2 separate regions of the Homo sapiens genome follow, and region 2 is linked to region 1. The links are contacts of gene promoters, found by promoter capture Hi-C in blood cells and fetal thymus (Javierre and others, 2016). All regions are on one chromosome and are shown on one strand. Each heading gives the region's core, a stretch centred on a gene start or on the middle of the fragment in contact. The rest is flanking DNA. Distances are from core to core; before and after follow the strand shown.

Region 1 (4,987 bases), core at 1,792-4,291:
ATTATTTTAGGGGAGGGAAATTTCATAGCTGCATAGAACTCAGCTAATTTTTATTAAAAACAAGAAGCCTTTTGTTATTTAAATGATGTTTTAGGTATTCTCACTTCTTCGCCTACTTTACCATAAGTCCCTCATCTTTGCCCCCAAAACACTAATAGCACTTAGAGCAATTACAGCCCTTAAAACAGTGGCAGACTGCAGTACATGCCCATTGAATGAATGCAGGCTGCGGTATATATGCTGGTAGAATGAAGTGATGTCTATCTGCTACTAGACTTCATGTCCTGGAAGAAAGGCACATTCTGTTATTAGCAAGGTGTTTGACACACATTAATAATGAATACGTGTTAGGCTTGATGCAGAATATATATAAACACTTGATTCAACTCAATGACAGTTTTAAAATGCAGATATTAATATCTAATTAGCATATATAAATCTTTAAATTTTAAAATTCAGCTAGGAACTGAAGAAAAAATACATGGGTGTTAAAATTAGCAAAGCTTCTTTTAGGTATGTATAGCATATATTCCCATGATAATAGGATTTTCTGAATTCTCAAAGGAGGTATGCAAAGAGAAACAACAAGATTTTAAAACTGGCTTTATTTTGTTGTCATTTTCAGTCTCATTTTCATAAATAAAGGAGGAAATATTTGAAAAAGTGATTTTGAAGTTACATATTATGATTAGCGTTTTACAAAAGTAGCCAAAGGCTTCCAAACAAACCTTTCATGGAAACACTTTTTTGCAAGTTGTTCAGCTAATGGTTCATTCTCAATCAAATGTATAGTCTTATGTGCCAGTTACATTGTATATCTCTAAAGTCAGCTGGTACTTTAAGAACAGTAATCTTCCTGTAATACTTTTTAAAATACCGAAGTATCCCTTTGAATTGTTTTCTTTTTCATTGCTTAACTGTTAGTTTAGAGGTGTGTATGTGATCATGGGACATTCATTTAACTTTAGAAAACAGAATAGTATTTTGTTTTAGAGTTAGTACATTGAAAAATGGGTCAGAAAATACAGATTGGTTTTCTTGTCAGTAAAAGTAATCTGCCATATTTTATGCTTGAATTACTAATAATTTCACTTATATGCATATTGTAATCACTCTGTGTTACATACATTTCTCCATTTAGTTTTTAAGATTTTTTTAAGAAGGAACCTAAAATAAAGAGCAAAGATCAAGCTTCTTTAATATGTCCAATTTCAGATATGAAGTAGGCATCCTATATTATGTTTTATCAGGAATAATACAATTTAACTAAAAGATATTGTTAATAACAGATACTCAGACTCTAAAGTAATTTACATAGCTTTTGAACGTATGTTTTCAAAGAACTTAGTAGCATCCCATACTGTGTTATGTTTATAGGTTTAGACCTCTCCCCCTCTATTGAGCTCTTAACACTTTTAAAATGGAAAACAAATAGTAAAGCAGTTGCTAAAAATGGCAGTTGGAGTAGCTTAAGAGTTTGAATTGTTTGTTTAAGGACTGAAACCAAATATAAAAACTTTTAAGGGGATTTTTTTTCATCATTCAACAAGGAACTGAAAATTACAAGGCTTATTTGCAATCTTAATTATTTACTCAATCTGTTTCCTCCCACGTCTCTAAATGGGAACGCATAACTTTAATTTTAAAGGACATATTCCCATAGGGAAATATAGATATCACTGTAAAACTTACGACTTTGAATTAAGTAAAAAGATTGTGGCCATCACTGGCTTTTGAGCTGCAGAAGCAGAAGACATGTACCTGCCCTTCGGGGGTATTAGGGACCCGACTAAACACACTTATTCTTCTCTCTGATTGCTGGACCATTCCCCAACTATTTGGAGCTCCACAAAGTATCAGGACTTCATCAAGAGCTCAGTGAAGGGTGAGATCTCAAAGATAAATATAGAGGACTCATTCCAAATATAGAACCAGTTAAGTTTGCATGCTCCCTTCTGTTGAAGAAATATCAAGGGGTTTCCTGTCTTGGCACTACTTAGCAGCAGCTGCGGCTATGTATCCACTTGACATCTGGTGAAATTGTAGTTTTTGATGGAGGAACATTTAAAGTTGACAACTGTCATTGAAACAACTGGTATATAGTTTTCAAAGACAAGCTAGAAACCAGTAATAGACTAAGTACTTCAATTTTGTTAAAAGAAACTGGGTAAAGGGTTCAAGTTATATAAGATAGGGAAGTCTGGTTTTCCAGGTAAAGGTTCTCTCTCTTTTTCTGTTGGAGATGTCATTCATCAACATAACGAAGCCTAAATTTAAAAGACTAAGACAAAATATTTACAAATCACATAAAAGTGAGGAAACAGCAAAATTAGTAGTCATTAGGAGAAAGCCAGGGAAGACAGGACATTCATCACATCCTTTCCTCATCTGCTTTCCTCACTGAGTCTCTGAGTGCTCATTAAATGCTTTCAATACAGTGTAATTAAGTGTGTGAACATGGTTGTCATGCTCCTCCAGGAATCTTGAAACCAGGAATGCCAGGTATATAACAGCGGGTTACAAAAGAAAACACGGATTCCTAAATCAGTGTTTTACTGTCAGTGCAGTGTTAAATGTCAATGCAACACTTAAGTTGCATTGACATTCATGTGTTGATCGGATTGTACAATGTGACGTGTGAGATTTCTCGGGACCGTCGAAGCTCAGACAACTCCAGGGCTGCAATTTACTCGTCTGGCTGCCCTCGAACCAGGCTCCCTTGGCGCGTGGGGCTCTCCCGGCGCTTGGTCCCGACCCGCGCCGCAGTCAGGATACCACGGCAATCTGGGGTCGCTTTGTAAGGAGCTCCGACCTCCGGGCAGTGCAGGGATACTCGACGGCGCGCGATGTCCCGGCGGCTCCGCGAGCCTGGCGCGCTGAGAGCCCCAGCAGTCCGAGTCCTCGAGCTCGGGCGTCTTCGCGCCGCCGCCCCGCTCAGTGCGCCCAGGCACCGCGGCCGTGACGTCACGCCCGGGACTGGCCGTTGCAGCAAGACGGCCGCGTTCCGGTTCCGGTAGGTTGCCCGGGAGACGCGGGTACACAGAGAAGCGGCTCCCGTCGGAGGCCGAGTCGTCGCCACGATCGCCCCCTTGGTGGACTCGCAGGCCGAGCGGCTTCCCCGCAGAGCTCGAGGAGGGCAGACGGCGGCGGGGGCGCCATGAGTCAGAGGCAGGTGCTGCAAGGTAGGGCCGAGGCGGGCAGGTGCCCTAACTAGCTGGCGCCGAGGAGACCCGGGTGCGGTGGGCTCCACCGACTCTCTCTCCCGCAGTGTTCGAGCAATACCAGAAGGCCAGGACCCAGTTCGTGCAGATGGTGGCGGAGCTGGCGACTAGACCCCAAAACATCGAGACGCTGCAGAACGCGGGTGAGCCCGGAGCCCGAACCCCCGTCGCCCCCCGCGCACTGAGTCCCCGACGCCTCCGCCCCGCTGCCCTGCCCGTGGAGCTCTTGGGGAGCCGCAGTGTGGGGACCGGAGTTCGCAAAAGCATCCATTCTTTTCAGCGGGTCTTTGGGGGTCAGGCCGAGAGGGTGAAGCTTCCAGATGGTTGTGGGAGGTGCGCGTTGTCCCTGTTTCCATCTTCATTGCACACAGGCAAGTGTCAGGTTGAAAGTCGAGGCCCTAGGAATTGCCTGGAGTCATTTTACGTGAATGGGACTCTACCCTAATGAGACCCATTTTATCCAAGTGCCATTTTGCATGCCACCCTGCCTTTGATCACCTTCGACTTCCTCACAGCAAAGCAATTCCAGTGGTTTAGACGTGATTTCTCGTCTTGCTTTAGTGAAAGGGGAATGATATGCTTGAATCTTTTCCAAGAAATTCCAAGTAGGTAGAGACCAGACTTTGCGAAATCCTTATGGCGCGTTCCTTCTACTCCTCAGTCCGGACTCTTGCAGATGTGAGAGGGGGAGAGAGGGGGAGAGGGAGGGAGAGAGATCTTCTTATCTCATAACATAAACTGATAAGAGAAAATGGTTCTTCTTCTTCTTCTTCTTCTTCTTCTTCTTCTTCTTCTTCTTCTTCTTCTTCTTCTTCTTCTTCTTTCTTCTTCTTCTTCCTCTTCTTCTTCTTCTTTTCTTCTTTCTTCTTTCTTCTTCTTTTTTTTTGGATGATTCTACCACCATCTGAACTGTAAGGTAGCATTTTATCACTACTGTGTCATGAGAAATCTTCAGTTTATAGGATGTGATCTTTAAAACTAACACATAATTTAAACAATTAACATGTTGACAGCAAGAATACTTAAGTGTAATGATTACTCTGGGTTTCTTTGAGGGGAATTACTACTGCACCTATGTGATACTTCGTTTTGTCACTAGGATTTTTGGCATTTATTCCTTGTGTGTTTTTATTGGGGGGCATGTATTTACAATAAAGTATATTTTATAATCTTCTAAACGCATTTTAGTTTGAAATAATTGTAGATTCACAACTGTAAGGGATAATACAGAGAGATCCCGTGTACCCTTTTCTCAGTTTCCCCAATGGTAACATTTTTCAAAACTGTAGTGCAATATCACAAGGAGGACATTGACATTGATAAAAATTCGTTGATCTTATATAGGTTTCCTCCTTTTAATTGTTCGTGTGTGTGTGTGTTTTGTCCTATAGAATTTTATTCCGTGCGTATCCACCACCAGCACAGTCAAGATACAGAACACTTTCATTGTCACAAGGATCCTCTCTCTTGCCCTTTTATAGCCACACACACCTCCTGCTATCCCTAACCCTGGACAACCACTAATCTCTTCTCCATTTCTAAAATTTTGTCATTTCAGAATTGATAATCCTTTGTTCTATAGTTGTTTTATATGGGTTGATTTTCTGTATTCTGTGTGTGTGTATGCACCCGTACTCCTCCAAGTACCCAGAACAATACTGGGCACACAGTATTTCATATACACAGACTAACACAGACTAAGGTATTAGAACATGTTACATTTTAGAAGTGTATTTAAAAGTAATTTTAAAGTGTAAACTTTTAAA
Region 2 (4,987 bases), core at 1,270-3,769, 360 kb before region 1:
AGTAAAGCCAGACAATGCTAGGGAATAGCACACACAGGCCTAGTATTTACAGACAACATGTGGCAGTCTATCAGTTGATTACATTTTGTCTTCCAATACTATCAAATTATTTCCTGTATGTAAAAGGCAGGAATCCTACATTTCTGTCAAAGATTCCACAAAACCTGGCAGTGCTAGTGACTACTAAAGTAGATGAAGAAGTAGAATGAGTCACAGGAAAAAGAGGGAAAAGACTGGAAACATACACAAACTTCCCACAAGAGCTGATACAAGACCCAAGAATCCTAAGGTAAAAATACTTTTAAAAACTGTATCATGAAGCCACCATTTATTCAGAGTCTGTAAATTCAGTAAGTGATATGTTTATACAATGTTATCAGAAACATCTAAGGCTATAAAAAATACATATATAGGAAATACCGACTCTGGCTAAACACACTGTCACTGAGGTGTAATCGGTTACTCAGATTATTACAGATTAATTACCTCTATGACTTTTTTAATTTGAATGATCTTATATACAATTAGTAAACAGCGGAATGATATTCTTATAATGCAGAGTTAGGTATGTAAGTTCGACTTGATTTTTTTTTCCCCTGGCACATTCATTTTTTTTTAATGATCCAAGATAAGTTTTCTTGCAATTAAAGACAAAACCTTAGTAAAATATGAAGATCTTTTAAAAAAAACCAGCTAGAAATCTATTAGACGTGCCTTCTATTAATATAAGTAGTAGCTGGTTTTGTGGCTTCAAGAACTTCTATGGTTTCTACTATGTAAAGCTATCTGATCAATCTCTGAGTGCAGCTCAAGAAGCTGCAAAGACATTTCCTTCATTTTCAAAAGGGCTCTTATCTGAATCATATGTATTTTTATTCAACTGATCTAAAGAATCTATATCCCAAATAAGGAAGCATGAGAACAAGGGTTTAAAGGATTTTAAGAACTATGATGCCAGGTTAAAATGCTAGAGGAGATTTAATTGATTTTTTAAAGTATTATTATTTTCATGAGTGCTTATAAGGTTCCACAGATTTTGAACGCTGTACCTCAACCCTATTTTTCCCATAGGTACTGTTATTTTTAGGGTGTGACTTTGCAGAATATGAAGCCATATATGGTTTTACAGTGGGAATACATGTACTTGGATCTGGTCTACCTGGATAAAGTAAGAAATAATGGAAAGTAAACTAAAGACAGAATACCTGTAAAGGAGATATCCTTATTTATAATTTTTCTTTTTTTTTTTTTCACCATGGCTTTACCTTCTGCAAGTCAATCCGGCTAAGGTACAATGGATAAAACGATTATCAAGCTTCTCTTTCTTACCTACCCACAGCAAACTTTGTTCCAGGCCTTTGACACCTTCATTGTTTTTGATAATAATCAAAGCTTTCTGCTCCTATGACTTTTGCAGTCATATGTCAAAACTGCATATGTCTGCTCCTATGACTTTTGCAGTCAAAAGTCCTATGACTTTTGCATTCTGCTTATTATGAATCCTGTTCAGAGTTTATTTTTGTCTTGTTCCCCAGCTTATTTTTCCAGAATCAAAACATTAACAGAGTTGCGGGGCTGGAAAGTCCTTAGGTTATCTAGTCTAACTTTACACTATTCTATATTATTAGCTACAAATATCTACTGACCACAGGGCTAAACAAGTGCTAGAAATGGCAGTGAACAAAAACAGGCACAAAATCCAGATATTGAACAAACTATATACACATATACACACATATATTTCCTAGTTCTGTCCATTAAGAAGTAATTTCCTACAAAGAAATTAACAAAGAGAAAATAGTAATTTTACGGTGGAGAAACCTGGCAGACACTTAACCAAATGATCAAAGTTAACATCATCTGTGATGAGATATATGGATATCATGTGCCTCCTGATACAATACACTGAAAAGGGCACACCACTTCCATAGTATTTATAACAAACATGCATAGTTTGAATTTAATCATGAGGAAATATTAGACAAACCCAAACTGTGGGACACTTTAAAATATAACTGTCCAATATTCTCCAAAAGTGTCAAGGTCAAGAAAGACTGAGGAACTGTCCCAGAGTGGACATAAATGAGATAAAACAACTAAATGTGTGATTCTGCACCAGGAAAAGGATGTTAATGGGACAGCTGGAAAATCTGAATAACATCTGTAGATAACACTGTAACAGTGTTAATGTCCTGGTTTTTATCAATTTATTAAGGTTACATCTGAGAAAGCCAGGTGAAAGGTATATGAGAACTGTATTATTTTTGCCACCTTTTGTTAAGCCTAAAATTATTTCAAAATGAAAAATTATACATAAAAAGTTTTAAAATATATTTCTTAAGTCTAATATTTGAAGTCAGTGATCACATATTTCCTTAGCCTTTCCTTTTCAGACTAAATGTGTTCTTCTTTTTGGGCAAGATTCCCAGAAACCCTACTGTATTTGTAGCTCCCCTTAAAAAAAAATTCAGTTTGTTAATATTCCTCCTTAAGTGTGGTACCAGGAGTGTTTATAATACATTGATGGAGATTGCATTAAATTTCTCATTTTCTGTGATCAAGTCACTCTCTGTTTCTATGTTTATTAATGCAAATTAGAGTTGAATTTTAAAAGCAGATGCATAATGCTGTTGGCCTAATTCAGCATGTAAACAACTAAAACCTGAGTGTTCATCTTTACTGAAGTCAAACCAGATCTCCCCGTTTTATATTTGTGCAAATGATTTTCTCAAGCAAAATGTAGAATTACATTTTTCCCTGATTACTTCCATCCTTTCAACTCATAGTTTACGATGGTATGGAGACCAGTTAGATTATTCTGAATGATAATTCTATCATTTACTCACTTGGCATGTATTCAGCACATACCATTTGCGGTGTACTATAAATTAAGAATCTATTAAAAATTTGCCATGGAATTGAGAGCAGTCATATCTGATTGGAAGAGCAAGCAATGGAGAAAATCTTTAATAATGGGATTAAATTTGGGCTGGGCCTTTAAGAATAGGTAACATTTAAATAGTAAGAAACAATTACAAAATAACAGTTATGATCTTTGAGCCTAACAGATAAGCTCCACAAGTTGTTAGTTTTCTGAGACTGGGCAAGTCTCTGAAATTCAATTTCCTCATTTGTAAAATGGGGAAAAAATGCCTTACTAAGTAGGGCTGTTTTAAAGATTACATGAGATAATATGTGTATTCAAAAACAGCCTTTTCAGCAGACGGTGCCAGGAAAACTGGATATCTGCATGCAAAAGAATAAAATTGAACCCTTACCTTTAACAAAGACTGTCTCCTTGACTAAACTCTAGTCAGGCTCCTCTAAACCATCTTCACAGCTAGGCCTCAACCTTTGAACTTCTATCTCCTCCTTTGCATCGTCCAATTTTAGCAAGAATTCTGCTAAGAGAGTTAAGCCAGAAACCCTACCATTGATATCCGATCACCCTCAATATATCTGACCAAATTCCTCATTCCCCACCAACCCCCAGGCGATACCTGATTACCTTGGCCTGCCTTTGGCAAAAACCTTGTCAAATTGGTTTCACCAGAGACCCCCTTAACTCTGATGTTTCCTCTAATCTTCCATCCACTGACCCTGTTCCTTGGCTATAAATCTCCACTTTCCATGTTGTATTCAGAATTAAGCTTCATTCTGTAACGAAGTCTCTTTTCTCCTACTGCAACTGTTCCTGATTAAAATTTGCTTTTACTGCTTTAACTACTGTCAGGCTCTACTTTTCTTTGACGCCTCACATCATATATATAAATTGACTTAAAAATAGATCAAGGACTAACATAGGAGTTAAAACTATACAACTCTTAGAAGAAAATATATGGGAAAAAACTTCATGATATTAGATTTGGTGATGATTTTTTGATATGACAGAGGTACAGGCAAAAAAAAGAAAAAAATAATAAATTGGACCTCATCAAAATGAAAACCTTTTGTGCATCAAAGGACACTAGTAAGAGAGTAAATAAACAACCCACAGAATGGGAGAAAATATTTGCTAATTATATATCTGATAGATTAATATCCAGAATATATGAATAACTCCTACAACCAACAACAAAAAAATCCAATTAAAAGTGGACAAAGGACTTCAACAGACATTTCACCAAAGAAGACAAATGACCAATAACCCACATGAAAAGATGCTCAATAACAGTAGTCACTAGGGAAATGCAAATCAAAACCACAACAGTTACTACCTCTCACCTATTAGGATAGCTATCATAAAAAAAAAAAAAAAGTAAAAACTAAGTACTGACGAGGATGTGGAGAAATTAGAACTCTTGTACATTGCTGGTAGGAATGTAAAATGGCACAGCAGCTATGAAAAACAATTTGGTGGTTCCTCAAAAAGTTAAATACTGCCTGGGCAACAAATTGTGACCCTTTCTCTACAAAAATTTTTTTAAAAAATTAGCCAGGCATGATGGCGCACATCTATAATCCCAGCTACTTGGGAGTCTGAGGCAGGAGGACTGCTTGAGCCTGGGAGTTTGGGGCTGCAGCAAGTTATGATCATGCCACTCAACTCCAGCCTGGGCAAGAGAGGAAGACTCTGTCTCAAAAACAAAGGAAGTTAAATATAGAATTACTATATGATCCAGCAATTCTTCCTCTAGGTATATACCTAAAAGAATTGAAAGCAGGGGCTCAAACAGATACTTGTATACCAATGGTCATAGCAGCATTATTCACAATAGCCAAAGCTGAAAACCTAAATGTCCAAAAATAGATAAACGGATAAATAAAAGTGGTATATACACGCAATGGAATATTATTCAGCCTTAAAAAAGAATGAAAATTTGAGATATACTACAACATGAATGAAACCTGAAGACATTATGAAGACAAGTGAAATAAGCCAGACACAAAAGGGCAAATATTATATGACTCCATTTATATCTAGTGCTTATAACAGGCAAATTCAAGAGTAAGCAAGTAGATTAGAGGGGCTGGATGCAGTGGCTCA

What was found. The method cuts DNA at HindIII sites, captures the fragments that hold promoters and counts their contacts. A CHiCAGO score of 5 or more calls a contact.
Region 2: a fragment that was not itself captured here is called in contact with the fragment with the promoter of SPAG6 in region 1 in 1 of 17 cell types (erythroblasts); the score reaches 5.5 in erythroblasts.

Annotation. Positions count from the first base shown.
Region 1 is chr10:22,342,455-22,347,441 of GRCh38, forward strand. It overlaps SPAG6 (sperm associated antigen 6), which reads left to right and starts at 3,042. Exons shown (of 11, transcript NM_012443.4): 1 at 3,042-3,182; 2 at 3,269-3,364. The coding sequence starts at 3,158. RefSeq lists enhancers at 2,891-3,110, 3,071-3,887. The HindIII fragment of the contact is 2,343 bases long and covers 1,190-3,532 here.
Region 2 is chr10:21,978,475-21,983,461 of GRCh38, forward strand. The region is part of intron 1 of DNAJC1 (DnaJ heat shock protein family (Hsp40) member C1); the gene reads right to left. Among named protein-coding and RNA genes, the nearest start is that of DNAJC1, 23 kb to the right of the region's middle. The HindIII fragment of the contact is 2,258 bases long and covers 1,391-3,648 here.